Regions from separate parts of the Homo sapiens genome. Here region 2 is linked to region 1. Evidence: promoter capture Hi-C in human tissues and cell types (Jung and others, 2019). All regions are on one chromosome and are shown on one strand. The core of a region is centred on a gene start or on the middle of the fragment in contact, and the rest is flanking DNA. Distances in the headings are between cores, read along the strand shown. Region 1 holds the start of ZNF256 (zinc finger protein 256). Region 2 holds the start of ZNF773 (zinc finger protein 773).

Region 1 (3,228 bases), core at 51-2,550:
GGGAAGCTGAGGCAGGAGAATCGCTTGAACCCGGGAGACAGAGGTTGTGGTGAGCCGAGATCGCACCATTGCACTCCAGCCTGGGCAACAAGAGCGTAACTAATGGGGGCAAAGATAATCATTTCAGCGTTGAGAAGAGATCTTGAATTTAAGATACACCCTACATTTGGGATTCAGAGCACCCTTTGTTCCACCTGTTAATGCTCTAGCTAGCCATCATGCCTTTTCAAAATACCATTCCTTTTGTTGTTCTCTTTCTGAGCTTGATGTCAAATTATTAAAAAGAAGTGAATATAAAGGCATGGAGAAAGTGAGATTAGATTCATGCAAGTGTTGCTTAGTGAATTGGACACAATGTTTGACTACACAGGCACGAGAGGGACCCAGAGACAGGGATCTACTTATGTCCTGCTGCTGCAGGGTGCCTCCGCATCCCACCTTCATCCTCTTTGTCATGAACCTGTGTGGAGTGTTTTTTTTCTTGTCCCTAATCAAACATACAGAGACTGAGAAAACTGACTCCAGTGCTTGAGTGCATGCGTTTGAATTGCAACATAGTCTTTTTTTTTTTTTTTTTTTTTTTTTTTTTTTGAGACAGTGGCTCGCTCTTTCCCCCAGGCTGGAGTGCAGTGGCGCGATCTCGGCTCACTGCAAGCTCTGCCTCCCGGGTTCAAGCTATTTTCCTGCCTCAGCCTCCGGAGTAGCTGGGGACTACAGGCGCCCGCCACCACACCCAGCTAATTTTTCTTTTTTTTTTTTTTTTTGTGGTATTTTTTGTATTTTAGAGACGGGGTTTCGCTGAGTTAGCCAGGATGGTCTCGATCTCCTGACCTCGTGATCCGCCCGCCTCGACCTCCCAAAGTGCTGGAATTACAGGCGTGAGCCACCGCGCCCGGCCGCAACATAGTCATATTTATTTGCTTTCTCAACCAGTGGATATATTTTGTGACTGACTGACTGTATGTAATAATATGTGCATCTGGATATGTGCCTCTGGGAACACATGAAATGACACGTCTCCAAACAAACACTGGCAGACAGCAATCGGTAGAAACCTGGGTACGTCTCCTTTAAGAAAGAACGAAGCCTCGCCTCCGCCCCAACCTGGAGTGTCCATTTCCCAGCGCCCCCTACAGGGGTTTGGCCTTTACTTCCGGAAGGAGGTGGAGGCGACCCTCACTCTCCCGCCGTGCGCCTGTGGGAACATTACCCAGAATGGCCTGCGTTGGGCGACGGCGACCTTCAGCCAATGAGGCCTCCGAAAGGTGGTGTTTCCGTAAGCGCACGCGCGGTCGCGGCGGGACTTCCGTTGTCCTCCTTGTGGCGGTCGTTTTGGCATTTGTCTGGACTGATTACTTGGTAGAAAGCCCCGGAGCGCTGGGTCAGCATCATCCGTGACTGACTGAGAAGGCGCGAGAGGAGTCTTCCCCGCTGCACAGAGGCGTGGCTGAGGCTCGGCGGCGCCCAGGGTACCCAGGCCCGGCCCGGAATAAGGACATCCTCTCTGGCCCCGCTCCGCTCACAGAGTCAGATGGCGGCGGCCGAGCTGACGGCCCCGGCCCAGGTATGTGCCGCGTCCTCTGGGCCTTCCCCGCCCTCCCCACGCTAGTCCTAGCACCCCCGAGGGCGCTTGCTCGCGGCCCTGCTGCCCAGGACAGGACACGGGGGCTCGCCGGAGGGGCTCCCGTTTCCAACACCTGGTGTGCTAGGGAAGGGAGGGCGCGACTGGCAAGGAGCCCCTGATGAGAGGCGCCACTGAGCCCTGGGGCACAGAGGTGACACAGCCATTGCGAGGGCACCCGGCTCCAAGGCCAGGCATGGGGCTACGGGGTGGCTTGAGCCCATCTAATACCGCCATAGATGCTCTTCTCTGAGGCCTGGCTCTTTCTACGTTTCCCTTGGCTGTAAAGGGTTATGAAATCTACGCCAGGAAGGGGAGGGTTTCCCAGTCTCTCACTAGCCCTAACTCCCACCCACAGGTTCTCTGGGTTGTGGAGTGCCATTCCCCCAGCCCTTAGTTCTGAAGACCTTGGGTGAACCCCAAGCCCAGGGTCCTATGTCCATGTTAGCCGGTATATAGAGTTGTTCCAATTTCTGGCAGCCATGTGAACGGGTGTGGAAAGTTTTTCCAGAAAGGTACAAGATGTGCAAATGCTTAGGTGCAGTACGGAGCTGGGTGCATTTATGAAGCCACAAGTCTCCTTGCTTTCTGGTGGGAAGCAAAGAACAGGAGGATAGGCGTCAGGACTGCAGTGGCTGCCTGAGAAGTTGAGTGTGTTTTCAGGAGGTAATAGCAAGTTTGAATCAGAAAAAAGAGGTAATTTACCAAGGTCTTCACAGGCTTCATCTGTGTGCACAGTGGGGCACAAACTGGGGGGTTGAGGGAGGAGGAAGGAAAATCAGGGTAGACTAGTCCAAGTGAGGGTTACTGGCCCAGGATCGTGATTTAGGAGATGTGGTTAGATTCCGGATGTGTGGTTTCAAAAGGGACAACTAAATTACATAATGTAGGTGGTGAGGGAGTGAAACAGAGGGTTCAGAGAAGACTCCAGGGTTTTTGGTATTAGCAGCTGTAGGGAAAGAAGTTTCATCAACTAAGATGAACAAATTGGCAATAGGAGTAATATTCACTAGGGATATCAGGTTTGTTTATGCCATGCTAAGAGTCAGATCTTTCAGAGCCTACTAAATGGAGGCGTTAAGTGGGCAGATGAACGTGCCGGTCTTGAAATCTAGGGAGTGGTTCAGGGTGCAGATATTCAAGATGTGGCTGTTGTGCGCACCAAGGTTAGTGAGCTGTGGGTCACAGTTAGGCGGGGCAAGCTCCAGGTTTTGGTTGTAAAGCTGTTAGTGGGCCAAGACTGGGAGGATGATGATAGAGTAAGTGGTCATGAAGGCAAGGTATGTAAAAGACAGTGTAGTTTGGCAGTGGCCACGGCTCCCAAGAGAAGAATGGACATGAGATGGATGCAAACGCATAGGACACTCAGGCCAAAACTCGTGCTTATTCACCACTTTATGGGTATCCAGGATTTTGTGATAACTTGATGGGGCCTGGGTGTTTCATTCAGGCTGGAAGATTAAGTTAGTGTCATGTGGTCATTTGTGAGAGTCATTGTGTGTGAGATGAACGACCAGTGAGGCTGGGATTTAAATGAGCTTTAGGTGGATATATGACTCTCAAGGGGATGGTAAGTGCAGCACAGAAGTGGAATAGGGCCATGGTTA
Region 2 (3,200 bases), core at 115-2,614, 450 kb after region 1:
TCTCAAAAAAAAAAAAAAAAGAAAGAAAAAGAAAGACAATGTGGGTTTCCTTTTGGCAATCTGGCTGCCTGCTATATACTCCCCTGAAGACCATCCTGCTGAGAGCCCTCCCTTCTACTGGAGCAGTTGATCATCCCACCTGTGCTGATAGCTAGGGAAACTTAGGCACCAAAGGTGCTGCTCCACCAGCCTGGCTGACCTTTCCTTTTCTCCATATGGACTGGACATGAGGAACTACTAAGCCTGGAGTGGCAAACCTATATACTACCCAACACTGCGGTCTCCATCCAGTCCTGGGTGTTCATACTCTATAACCCTCCATTCCTGCAGGCACCAGACAAAATCACTTCGGACCACGAAACTCCAGGCTGTAGAGGCTGCCCCATCCTACAGGCCCATCTCTCCCTTCCCTCACCTCAGGGACCATCTGAAAGAAAACTTTAAGATTCTCCCTCCTAAATACGAGCCCCAGGCCTTCCAGCTGCTCATGTGGACATGACACCTCCACTCTGGGACATCTCAGGATCACCATGCCCAAAACCTATTCCCTGCACAGCCTTACCCATCTCCATCCTTCCTGATATTCAGGAACAAACAAAAATACAAATAAAAATCCAGAATGGCTCTTCATTCCCTACTTTCTTTCACAGTCACATCTGATGCAACAGGAATTCCCGTCTGTTCAGTTTTTGAAATCCATCCAAGATCTGATCACTTCCCCTCCTCTGTGGCCCAGTCCCAGTAGACTCTCCACTAGTCTACTGAATTTACCTACTCACAGGTCTGTCTTCACCCGCCTCACCCCCACCCCAGTCTGTTTTGACTTGAAGGGCCTTTGGCAAACTTTGAGAAACAGATCTTGTCACTCTTCTGTCTCCAGCCCTCCGCGGCCACTGTGGCCCCCTCAGGATGAAAGCGCAGCTGCTCGGGCTGTCGCTCGACACGCGCCTCGTCCCTTCCCAAGCTGCCCACTACAGACACCAGGAGGCCTCAGGTTCGGGACTCGCTGAATGCGCCTCACATCTTTGCGAGCCGGGCCCCTTGCCCTCCATTGCCACCCCATCACACTGCGTGTCAGAAACGGGACGCCGCCCACGAACGCCCCACAGTTCTGCACCCGGGGACCTGAGCAGGCGGCCCTCACAGGGCTTTAGGATTCGGGGGAGGCCGGGAGGACGCGGCGCTCACCTGAGCGGGGTCCCTCAGCGTGGCCGCCGCCATCGGAGCCTGTGGCGGTGAGACAACGACCGAGGAAAGGGCCCGGGCCACCCTGGGCGCCGCCACCGAGCCTCAGACCCGCCTCTGAGCTGCGAGAACACAGCGCGTCCCCACCGCGCTTTCCGGAGCTGGTCGCCGCAGCGAACAACCAGCTTCCGGCAAGCTGAGTTCTCTTGAGGGCAGCGAAAGCAACCGCCGAGGGGAGACGCCGGAAGTCCCGCCCATTGCGCGTCGCACTCTCGGGTAGACCTCTTTTCATTGGCCAAGCATCGCGGCTCACGGCGCGGCGCCTTCTGGGCAGTGTAGTTCGCGTGGCTCCAAACTTCGAGGAAGTGGGCATAACTTCGGAGATGGAGATTGGAGACGGTAGATGATGGAGATGGAGATGGAGATGGAGATGATGGAGATGATGGAGATGGAGATGATGGAGATAGAGATGATGATGGAGATGGAGATGATGGAAATGGAGATGATGAAGATGGAGATGATGGAGAAGATGGAGATGATGGAGAAGATGGAGATGATGGAGAAGATGGAGATGGAGATGATGGAGTAGGAGATGGAGATGGAGATGATGGAGATGATGGAGATGGAGATGATGGAGATAGAGATGATGATGGAGATAGAGATGATGATGGAGATGGAGATGATGGAGATGGAGATGATGGAGATAGAGATGATGATGGACATGGAGATGATGGAGATGGAGATGATGATGAAGATGGAGATGATGGAGAAGATGGAGATGGAGATGATGGAGTAGGAGATGGAGGAGAAATGAGTGTCGAGAACTCTCGGACTCATCTGGAACCTGTTGTAATTGGAGATGGGCCTGGATTTCAGTTTCCTGCAGCTGATACTCCAATCTTTCCTTCTTTTGAAGGACTTGAAGAGGATCTTCAGGGCCACCATAAAGAGGTTTCACTGGGCAAAGCCACGTATACCTTCCTAAATTTCCTTTGGCAAGGGGACACCCAATATTAATGCCTGATGTATGATAATAAGAAAAGGCTCTGAATTCTGGATGTAGGTGATGAGAGAGTAGGGGAGCCCAAGGATTTACGTTCCTCTTTCACCCCATTCTCATTTGTGTTCTTTCCTTCCTCAAGGACCCAACATTGGTGTAAAGGCACAACAACAGGCAGCAAACCCATAAGCCAACTCCCCCTCAATTTCTCCCCTTCATCCATTTCTGCTCCATATTCCTGTCACAGTTACTATGGGACTGAACGAAGGGGAACGAATGCAGAAATGAAAACAAAGGCAAAATAAATCTGTTTTAAAGAAGGGGTCAGGGGGCTTCTTGCTTCTAGTGAGGAAGGGCCCTGAGCTTCCACAGACCTTCATATTTATTGGGTAGAAAGAGTAGGGAGGTGGTGGCTTACGCCTGTAATCCCAGCACTTTGGGAGGCCAAGGCGGGTGGATCACAAGGTCAGGAGATCGAGACTATCCTGGCTAACACGGTGAAACCCCGTCTGTACTAAAAAATACAAAAAATTAGCCGGGTGTGGTAGCAGGTGCCTGTAGTCCCAGCTACTCGGGAGGCTGAGACGGGAGAATGGCATGAACCCGGGAGGTGGAGCTTGCAGTGAGTGGAGTTCATGCCACTGCACTCCAGCCTGGGCGACAGGGAGAGAATCCGTCTCAAAAACAAAAAAAAAGAAAAGAAAATATCGCTCTGGTTTTGTAATGATAAAATAGAACCTACATATATTTTGTGTTATGCATTCTTGGCATACCTATTTCAATGAATTCTGGTTTTTTGAAATTGTCTCAAATATTCAAAAATTTTTTCCAGTATATTTATTGAAAAACATTCACATATAATTGGACCTGTGCATTTCAAACCTGTGTTATTTAAGGGTCAGCTGTACTGTCATGAAACCACCAACACAGTCATGATAGAGAAAATTACCATTGCCTGATAACGTTTTCCTGTACTCTTTCAGTCAGAACCTTCCCCCTCAGACCGCAGGCTCAA

What was found. The method cuts DNA at HindIII sites, captures the fragments that hold promoters and counts their contacts. A contact is called where the count stands out against the background at its distance.
Region 2: a contact is called between the fragment with the promoter of ZNF773 here and the fragment with the promoter of ZNF256 in region 1, in 1 of the 25 tissues and cell types used here (dorsolateral prefrontal cortex).

Annotation. Positions count from the first base shown.
Region 1 is chr19:57,945,778-57,949,005 of GRCh38, reverse strand. It overlaps ZNF256 (zinc finger protein 256), which reads left to right and starts at 1,300. Exons shown (of 3, transcript NM_005773.3): 1 at 1,300-1,564. The coding sequence starts at 1,532. RefSeq lists enhancers at 1,062-1,151, 1,222-1,321, 1,812-1,891. The HindIII fragment of the contact is 18,689 bases long and covers 1-3,228 here.
Region 2 is chr19:57,498,102-57,501,301 of GRCh38, reverse strand. ZNF773 (zinc finger protein 773) reads right to left here and starts at 1,364. Exons shown (of 4, transcript NM_198542.3): 1 at 1,189-1,364. The coding sequence starts at 1,221. The HindIII fragment of the contact is 9,164 bases long and covers 1-3,200 here.